Linked DNA regions of Homo sapiens: all the other regions are linked to region 1. Evidence: promoter capture Hi-C in human tissues and cell types (Jung and others, 2019). All regions are on one chromosome and are shown on one strand. Each heading gives the region's core, a stretch centred on a gene start or on the middle of the fragment in contact. The rest is flanking DNA. Distances are from core to core; before and after follow the strand shown.

Region 1 (3,153 bases), core at 267-2,766:
GCCTTTGGGCTAGACCTTTCTCACACTGTGCCCTGTCCAGGGGGTTCTCTAAAACAAAAAATAGCAGACATTTGTCTGTCTGATAATCTCCTCAGCGCCCTGCACCCCCACAGCCAGCCTGGCCCACAGGCCTCCGTGAGCCCCCGCCCCAGGAGAGTCATTCACCTCCACACCTCCTGCTGGCAACAGTGGACACATCGCACTTTTTCGTGACATAACGTTCCCAGCCTCTGTGCCTTTGCTTCTGCTCTTCCAGCCCCCTTGCTGTTCCTTGCCCAAATGCTTCTCACTCAGCTCAGATGATGTTCCCTCCCACGGACTCTCACCCCAGCCCCTCTAGCATCCTCTGCCTACCTGGTTACTACAGTGTTCACATTATTTTGAAATTTCCTGTTTATTTTGTCAGTCAATAAATATTTATTGAGCATCTACTATAAATGCTGTATGGAGGTTACAGCAGTGAACAAATCAAATTCTAGCTGTCAGGAGTTAAGGGACAGGTAGCAAACAAGATATAAACGCTCCAGAGAAAAAATAATGGAGGAAGACGACAGCATTGTGCTATTTTCCACAGCACATTGGAGCGTAGCCGTGTGGGTGGATGTAGGGGAAGGGGGCTCCAGGTGGAGAGAAGCAGGAGGGCCAGAGCACATCCTCAGGACTCGTAGGCCAGGACCGGAACCTTGTGTTTTCCTCGAATGAAATGGGAAGCAGGGACCCCATGCTGGTAAGCAGTCTGCCTGCAGGCGGGTGAGGGTGGCGGGAAGCGCCTGGTGAGAGGGGCCGAGAGTCTGTTCCACACCTGCCTCCTCCCCACAGCGTGGTGCAGAGCAGGAGCCCAGCGAACATTGATCAGACAGCGTGGGAACGGCTTTTCCAGACTCCTTCCTTCCCAAGCATCTCTGGTTTTCGGTGACCACACAGACCCTTGGCCCTCTTCTCAGCTATTCAACGAGAGAGCAGATTTATGGATTGGAGACCCCCATCAAAAGTCCCCAGCCTGTGGCTCCCCAGGGTTAGGATCTCTGACTCAATGGGGCCCTGTGCACACTGGGGGATGTGAAGGGCCCGGGGCAGCGGTGGCTGGGGGTGCGTTTCGGGGGAGCTGCATGCTCTCACTGTGGTTCGTGGCTGAGCCCTGCCGATCTTATGTAACCAGAGAACTCAGAGAACCGCATCTGGCAGCGGCAAGTCTGGAAAGCTGGAAGAGCTCCATGCCAGGCTGAATCAATCAGCAGCCCCCACGCCCAGGGCAAACATAGGCTCTTTTGAAGATTGGAGATGTGCCCTGCCCAAGCCTTCAGAAACATTCTCGCATTTCAGAAGTGAACAAAAGCAAACAGCCCGGGACCTAATCCCCAAAACCTGGGCTGTAGGGAGCAGAGGTCCAGAGGACGCCACACCCCACATTTGAATATTTTTTTTTCTTGTCACGCAAACTTCCTGGGCAGGAACTCCAAGGGCTCAATGGACGGGAAGCAGGGTCCTTAAATACGTCCCCTCTTGGCTCTTGCCGTTCCAGGAGCCCCAGTTACCGGGAGAGGCTGTGTCAAAGGTAATCCTCTTCCCTGCATTCCTTATTTTTTCTCTTGTCTAGGTGGAGTCTGCACTCAGAGCCGGGGCCCTAAGTGTCAAGAGTCCTACATCATCTCTCCAGGGGGTCCCTGCCTCTGGGACCATCATCTCTGGAGCATCCTCCTGGACCTCTGGCAGCTCTGCCATCCCCCAAACCAGGAGGCAGAGGTCCCAGGGATCCGCGGAGCAGGGACACCAAGGTGGCCGTGGAGTGAGAGGCCCTGATGGGCCGTCAGACTCCATGACTGGAAGGAAGGCAGCAGAGCCGAGTGCTAAAGGCATGAGCTGCTGACAGAGATGCATGTGGGTTCAAACCCTGACATGCCACCTGCTAACTGTGAGATCAGATACAGCATTAAACGTTTCTCAGTCTCCCTTTCCTCATCTGTAAAATGCACTCATAACCGTTTCTTCTTCATGGGCATCACTACAGAGCTTTTGTGAGGATGGAAGGCAATGAGGAGGGGAGGAGGTGTCACTGGGGGGCAAAGTCAACACTGGCACAGGTGAGAGGAGCGGGGTGCAGGAATGTGGGGTGTGAGGCGACGGGCTCTGGGGAGGCCCCCAGTGCATGCTGCAGCAGCTCCCATTTGGGTGCAGCTGCGACGTGATGGTGTCCACTCATCTCTGTGAAGTGGCACCTTTGTTAACCTGTCTCTCGGGGAAGTCCTGGGAAGGCCGTCCAGCCCAGAGACCACAGTTCCAAGTGGCGATGCTGGGGTGCAAGGCCAATCCCGTCCCACGCTCACCAGGCTCTTCCCACCTGGGCTGCCTGCCTTGGTTTGACCGTACAAGGCTCGGGAGAGAAGCGGGACCTTCTCTCCTGGGTTGTGGTCAGCAGGAGGGGCCTGGCCCATGGGACTGAGGAGGTCCCAGTGAGGGGGCTTTCCCAGCCTCCTATCAGAACATAGGGAGGGACCATGGAAGGGCCAGGCTTAGAGCACCCTCAATGCCAGCAGGTCCCTCCTCCCTGTGCAGAAAGCCTGGGATTAGGGGTCAGCCTATGGGGAGGGGAGGCAGAGGAAGGATTGGAAGCCACTCGCTGGAATGTAGGCAGGACCATATATCTATATACAATATAATTATATATTACATATGATATATAGGGTTTTTTAAAAAAATGGAAATACCCTATTTCTGCTGATGTTAAAAGTTATGCCGGGTCTGCAAGTGGGCTGAGTATCTCAGGAAGGGGAGTAAGGAACTGGTAACAGTGGCCCCTCTGTGGGGCAGCACCTGACAGCTGATGGAGCAGGGAGGAGGGAGGCAGACTTTTTTCTGTGCCCCTTTGCTATATTTTACATTTTGTTTCATGAGCATGTAGTGCCTATCTTAAAACGCACCAAAATTTAAAAAATACAAGCTCATTGCAAAAAGTCAAACATTGCATAAGAGGAAAACAGATCATCAATAATTCCACCCCCATCAGTTGTCTCATCGTGTCGGGGGCTACCGTTCTAGTCCTTTCTTGCATGTTAGAGCGTGCACGCCCACACACACACGCACACGCGCGCACACACACGCACATGCACACACACGCACGCACACACACACGCACATGCACACACACGCACACAC
Region 2 (3,153 bases), core at 486-2,985, 53 kb after region 1:
GTCTTACAGTTCTGGAGACCAGATATCCTAAATCAAGGTGTCAGCAGGGTCATACTTATACTTCCTTTGAAGGCACTAAAGAAGGATCTGTTCTGGGCCTCTCTTCTAGCTCTGGTAGCCTCAGGGGTTTCTTGGATTGTAGATGGTCATCTTTTCCCTGTCTCTTCAAGTCTTCCTTCCATGTCTGTCTCTGTCCAAATTCTCTCTATTTTTTTTTTTTTTTTTTGAGATGGAGTCTTGCTATGTTGCCAGGCTGGAGTGCAGTACTGCAATCTGGCCTTACTGCAACCTCCACCTCCTGGGTTCAAGCAATTCTCCTGCCTCAGCCTCCCAAGTAGCTGGGACTACAGGTGCGCACCACTCTGCCTGGCTAATTTTTTTTTTTTTTTTTGTATTTTAGTAGAAATGGGGTTTCACCATGTTGGCCAGGATGGTCTTGATCTCCTGATCTCATGATCTGCCCACCTCGGCCTCCCAAAGTGCTGGGATTACAGGTGTGAGCCACCGCACCAGGCCCAAATTCCCTCTTTTAATAAGGACACCAGTCATATTGGATTAGGGCCTACCTTAATGACTCCATCTTAACTTGATCATCAGCAAAGGCCTTATTTCCAAATAAGGTAACATTCACAGGTACTGAGAGTTAGAATTTCAACATCTTTTGGCCAGACACAGTGGCTCACACCTGTAATCGCAGCACTTAGGGAGGCTGAGGTGGCAGATCACCTGAGGTCAGGAGTTCAAGACCAGCCTGGCCAAAATGGTGAAACCCCCATCTCTACTAATAATACAAAAATTAGCTGGGCGTGATGGCACACACCTGTAATCCCAGCTACTCAGGAGGCTGAGGCAGGAAAATTGCTTGAACCTGGGAGGTGGAAGTTGTAGTGAGCCAAGGTTGTGCCATTACACACCAGCCTAGATGACAAGAGCGAAACTCCACCTTAAAAAAAAAAAAAGGAATTTCAGTATCTTTTGTGGGAGACACAATTCAACCCATAACATTTATTATTAGTTATAAGAGTTCTTTATATATTCTGGATACAAGTCCTTTATCAAGCTTTATGATTTGCAAACCCAGGCTGTGGCTTATCTTTTTAAATTAAATTTTATTTTTTAAATTCACAGATAAATATATTTATGGTATACATTTTTTCTTTTTTTTTTTTTTGCTGTTTTTTTTTTTTGTTCTTTGTTTTTTTTTTAAGACAGGTCTCACTCTGTTGCCCAGGCTGGAGTGCAGTTGGCACCATCATAGCTCACTACAGAACTCCTGGGCTCAGACCATTCTCCCACCTCAGCCTCCCAAAGTGCTGGGATTACAGGCATGAGCCAATGCACCCAGCCACTATGTTTGTATATATGTAAACATTTCACTATGTTTAGACATTGTGAAATGGCTAAATCAAGCTAATTAACATATGCATTACCTTACATAATTCTAATTTTCTTGTGGTGAGAACATTTAAAATATACTATTACCAATTTTCAAGTATACAATAGTTAACATGTTGTACAGTAGGTCTCTTAAACTTTTTCTTCCTGTCTAACTGAATCATTTTCTTAATGGTATCTTTTGAGTTGCAAAAGTTTTCACTTTCAATGTAGTCCAATTTCTTAATTTCTTTTATGGCTCATGCTTTTGCTATTTTATATATAAGAACTCTGCCTAACCCAAGGTCACAAAGATTTTCTCCTCTGTTTTCTTTAAAAAGTTTTAATGTTAAGTCTTTCTTACATTTAGGTTTATGATCCTTTTTTTTTTTTTTTTGAGATGGAGTCTTGCTCTTTTACCCGGGCTGGAGTGCAGTGGCACAATCTGGGCTCACTGCAACCTCTGCCTCCCGGGTTCAAGCGATTCTTCTGCCTCAGCCTCCTGAGTAGCTGGGACTACAGGTGTGTGCCACCTCGTCCGGCTAATTTTTGTATTTTTAGTAGAGATGGGGTTTCACCATGTTGGCCAGGCTGGTTTCGAATTCCTGACCTCGTGATCCACCCGCCTTGGCCTCCCAAAGTGCTGGGATTACAGGTGTGAGCCACAGCGCCTGGCCTCTGATCCATTTTTAGTTCATTTTTGTGTATAATATGAGGTAAGGGTTTAAATTCATTTTTTACATATGGATATCCAATTGTCCTGGCACCATTTGTTAGCACATGAAAGACTCATTTCTCCAGTACTAAGTTTCTTGGAAACACAGTTGAAAATCAACTGACCATAAATGTAGTGGTTTACTTCTGAATTCACAATTCCGTTCCATTGATTTATGTCTATGCTATGCCATTGTGACAGTCTTAATTACTGTAGCTTTACAGGGAGTTTTGTAATCAGGTACTATTAATATACCAACTGTTCTTTTCTGTCCCCAAACTCTTTTGACTCTTTTAGGTCCTTTGCATTTTTGTATGTATTTTAGAATCAGCTTATCAATTCCTACTAAAAAGCATGCTGAGATTTTGAAAAGAATTGTGTTGAATCTATAGATCAATTTGGACAGAACTGTCATCTTAACAATATTGAGGCCTCCAATCCATGGGCACAGAATGTCTCTAGTTATTTAGAACTTCTTTATCTCGGCAATGTTTTATAGTCTTCAATGGACAAATCTTATACTTCTTTTGTTAAATTTATCCCAAAGAATTTTATTCTTTGGATGCTACTGTGAATGAAATTGTTTTCTTAATTTCATTTTAGATTGTTCATGTTTATAAAAAATCAATTGATTTTTTGATTATTGATCCTTTATCCTGTGACCTTGTTCTAATAGTTTGTGTGTCTGAGCTCCTTAAGATTTTCTACATGTAGGATCATGTCATCTGTGAATAGACACTTTTACTTCTGCTTTCCAATTTGGGGAGAACCTCCAATACAATGTTGTTTTGTTTTGTTCTGAGACGGAGTCTCGCTCTGTCGCCCAGGCTAGAGAGCAATGGCGCGATCTTGGCTCACTGCAAGCTCCGCCTCCCAAGTTCAAGCGAGTCTCCTGCCTCAGCCTCCCAAGTAGCTGGGACTACAGGCACGCAACTCCGTGCCTGGCTAATTTTTATTTATTTATTATTATTATTATTATTATTATTTTTAGTAGAGACGGGGTTTCACCATTGGCCAGGGTGGTCTCCAACTCCTGACCTAAGGTGATCCACCCTCCTCAGCCT
Region 3 (3,153 bases), core at 454-2,953, 35 kb before region 1:
GTGATCACGCCACTGCAATTCAGCCTGCGCAACAGCAAGACCCTGACTCAAAAAAAAAAAAAAAAAAAAAAAAAAAAAAGTATCATGTCCAGTGTTATTGAGGTTTAGTAGGATCTATGTGCTTACTCAGGGCTGCGTTAGAGAGTACTATAACAGTTCTTAGGAAGAGCTGTAAAAATATTTATTGATCTATGCTAATTCCATTCCTTCTTATACCACTTCAGAGTATTTATCACAAAGAAATTATTCAAAAGAAGGAACAACTGTCTGCATTTCATTACAGTGCTATTTGTAATATGAATAAAATCAGAAATAGTATAAATGACTCCAGATAAACATTATATAATATATATAAATTTAATGAATCAGTGCATCCATTGAGTTTTATAATTATGAGGCCCTGTGGAGCAGCAAGGAGAAATGAATATGATCTAAATTTGTTTAAAACAGAGTATAAAAAAACTAGCTCTGATGATGTCTAATATAAAATATATAGACAAGGAATAACAATGAACATGGATAAGTAAAAACTATTAATATCCTCAAATAGTACATAGGGGGTCAGTGAGTTTCTTTTAACGAAACTTTCCTTTGTCACCTCAGCAGGTTTGTTTAGTAAATAAGAGTAGGAGTGGGTGTGAAAGCCCTAACTCTGGACACTGCCATGTATCCTCTGTTTCCTTGTAGTGGGGCCCAGCAACTCCGGGGGCTCTCTTTGTGCCATGAGTGGCCGCGTGTGCGTGGGGTCCCCGCCTGGCCCAGGCTTCGGCTCTTCCCCTCCAGGAGCAGAGGCAGCTCCCAGCCTGAGATACGTGCCTTACGGTGCTTCACCCCCCAGCCTAGAGGGGCTCATCACCTTTGAAGCCCCTGAACTGCCGGAGGAGACGCTGATGGAGGTAGAAAAGAGACTATAGTGGTGTGAATGTAATGTTGATTTGATATGAGAACATTCTAGTGATGACAAGAACAAAATACATTAAATAGTTAGGAAGTTATGTTCTCTTTAACGTGCCTTTTCTGTTTGAAAAGTATTGCTGATGTCTTTTTAAATTAACATTGACAGTGACACTCATCCATAATAAGCTTTGGTTTATAGGAAGAAACACATAGATTCTGTGTTTTTCTTTCTTTCTTTTTTTTTGAGACAGAGTCTTGCTCTGTCACCCAGGCTGGAGTGCAGTGGTGCAATCTCGGCTCACTCCCACCTCTGCCTCCTGGGTTCAAGCAATTCTCCTGCCTCAGCCCCCACGAGTAGCTGGGATTACAGGCACACGCCACCATGCCCGGCTAATTTTTGTATTTTTAGTAGAGACGGGGTTTCACCATGTTGGCCAGGCGGGTCTCGAACTCCTGACCTTGTGATCTGCCCACCTCTGCCTCCCAAAGTGCTAGGATTACAGGCGTGAGCATTCTAGTACATTCTATTGCATGTTCCAGTGTATTGAAACATACAGTGCAATATGCTGTCACAGAGCAGAGAGACTTTTAGAAGTCAATTGGCTTATTCTCCTGTCACTAGGAAAATGATTCTCATCTTTATTTAACCATAAAAGAGTGGGAAACTTTTAGGCTTGAGATTTCAGAATGCATTTATAACTAAAAACAAATCTCAAAACAACAATCTAGAATACCCATTTATTTATTTATTTATTTGTTTGTTTGTTTGTTTGTTTATTTGAGACAGAGTCTTGCTCTGTCACCCAGGTTGGAATGCAGTGGTGCGATCTCAGCTCACTCTAACTTCCACCTCCTGGGTTCAAGCCACTCTCCTGCCTCAGCTTCCTGAGGAGCTGGGACTACAGGCACATGCCACCACGCCCAGCTAATTTTTGTATTTTTAGTAGAGACGGGATTTCGCCATGTTGGCCAGGCTGGTCTCAAACTCCTGACCTCAGGTGATCCACCCGCCTTGGCCTCCCAAAGTGCTTGGATTACAGGCATGAGCCACCATGCCCGGCCTAGAATGCCCATTTTTAAATGACAGCCCTCTGAATGCTGTTATGTCTACCCACACTCCCCTCTTTAACTAACTGAAAAGATCACAGAAAGTTAGAGCTTTGGTATTAGTAATCACTGTTAACTGAAAAACGACCAGAAATTAAATAAAGCAACTCTGAAATTATAAGAAGTCAGCAGAATTCAATACAGTATCAAGAAGTGTGATTTAGCACCTATAGTATCCTTGTAATCTTTGTGTCTACCTTGTCACGTTTTTGTCTCATGTATATTGATTTAATCGTTCAGCTTTCTTTTCTTTTTCTGGTAAAAGCACAGCGACCCATCCTGAGTTTACTTATGTGGGTACTCTGATACACATACACAAACACATGCATATACCTATATTTGGTTTCATTTGTGTTCATTTTCTTACCAGCTTTCTGAAATTTAAAAATTTCAATCTCCTTTTGTCATTCTGATACTCATAAGTATAGAAAACATGATCAGCGGCCATGGTTTATGTACAGAAATGAGTATGTACGTATTTTTAATCTGAAATTTTCTAAGACAAATTGACTTTGCTGCAGCGGGAACACACAGACACCTTACGCCATCTGAATGTGATGCTGATGTTCACTGAGTGTGTGCTGGACCTGACAGCCATGAGGGGAGGAAACCCTGAGCTGTGCACATCTGCTGTGTCCTTGTACCAGATCCAGGAGAGTGTGGTGGTGGACCAGATCAGTCAGCTGAGCAAAGACTGGGGGTGGGTGCCCCCTTGTCATTCATTTCCAGACTTTTCATGCTTTGTCTAAACTTGTGTCTAAGTTGTAGGTATTGTCATCCACTGAAGATCATATCTCATTATTAAAAGCTAGGAGTCTCAATTATTTCTTTGTACTACATTTCACTATATGAGCCAAGACCTGGAGATTATGCAACCTCAGTGTTGCCTTTCCTTGTAAATTATACTGTTGAAGTTCTTTTGTGTAAATAGATTGTATTGATTTTTATCTGAGTGTATCCGTTATTTTCACAGTACACACATCTTTAACTATGCCTTGTCCCTTGAGAGTTTACTTGTGCATTAAGAAATTAAGGAGGGCTGGTCGCAGTAGCTTATGCCTATATGTAATTCCAGCACTTTGGGAGGATGGGGCAGAAGGATTGCTTGAGCCCATGGGTTCGAGACCAGCCTGGGCAATATGATGAATC

Evidence for each region. Contacts are between HindIII fragments. The study calls those that stand out against the background at their distance.
Region 2: a contact is called between a fragment that was not itself captured here and the fragment with the promoter of ALDH3A1 in region 1, in 3 of the 25 tissues and cell types used here (heart right ventricle, liver and spleen).
Region 3: a fragment that was not itself captured here is called in contact with the fragment with the promoter of ALDH3A1 in region 1 in 4 of the 25 tissues and cell types used here (bladder, mesendoderm cells, pancreas and 1 more).

Annotation. Positions count from the first base shown.
Region 1 is chr17:19,746,661-19,749,813 of GRCh38, reverse strand. ALDH3A1 (aldehyde dehydrogenase 3 family member A1) reads left to right here and starts at 1,516. Exons shown (of 11, transcript NM_000691.5): 1 at 1,516-1,555. The HindIII fragment of the contact is 25,713 bases long and covers 1-3,153 here.
Region 2 is chr17:19,693,534-19,696,686 of GRCh38, reverse strand. The region is part of intron 13 of SLC47A2 (solute carrier family 47 member 2); the gene reads left to right. Among named protein-coding and RNA genes, the nearest start is that of SLC47A2, 21 kb to the left of the region's middle. The HindIII fragment of the contact is 3,834 bases long and covers 1-3,153 here.
Region 3 is chr17:19,781,440-19,784,592 of GRCh38, reverse strand. ULK2 (unc-51 like autophagy activating kinase 2) reads left to right here. Exons shown (of 27, transcript NM_014683.4): 22 at 688-896; 23 at 2,526-2,704. Among named protein-coding and RNA genes, the nearest start is that of ALDH3A1, 35 kb to the right of the region's middle. The HindIII fragment of the contact is 9,613 bases long and covers 1-3,153 here.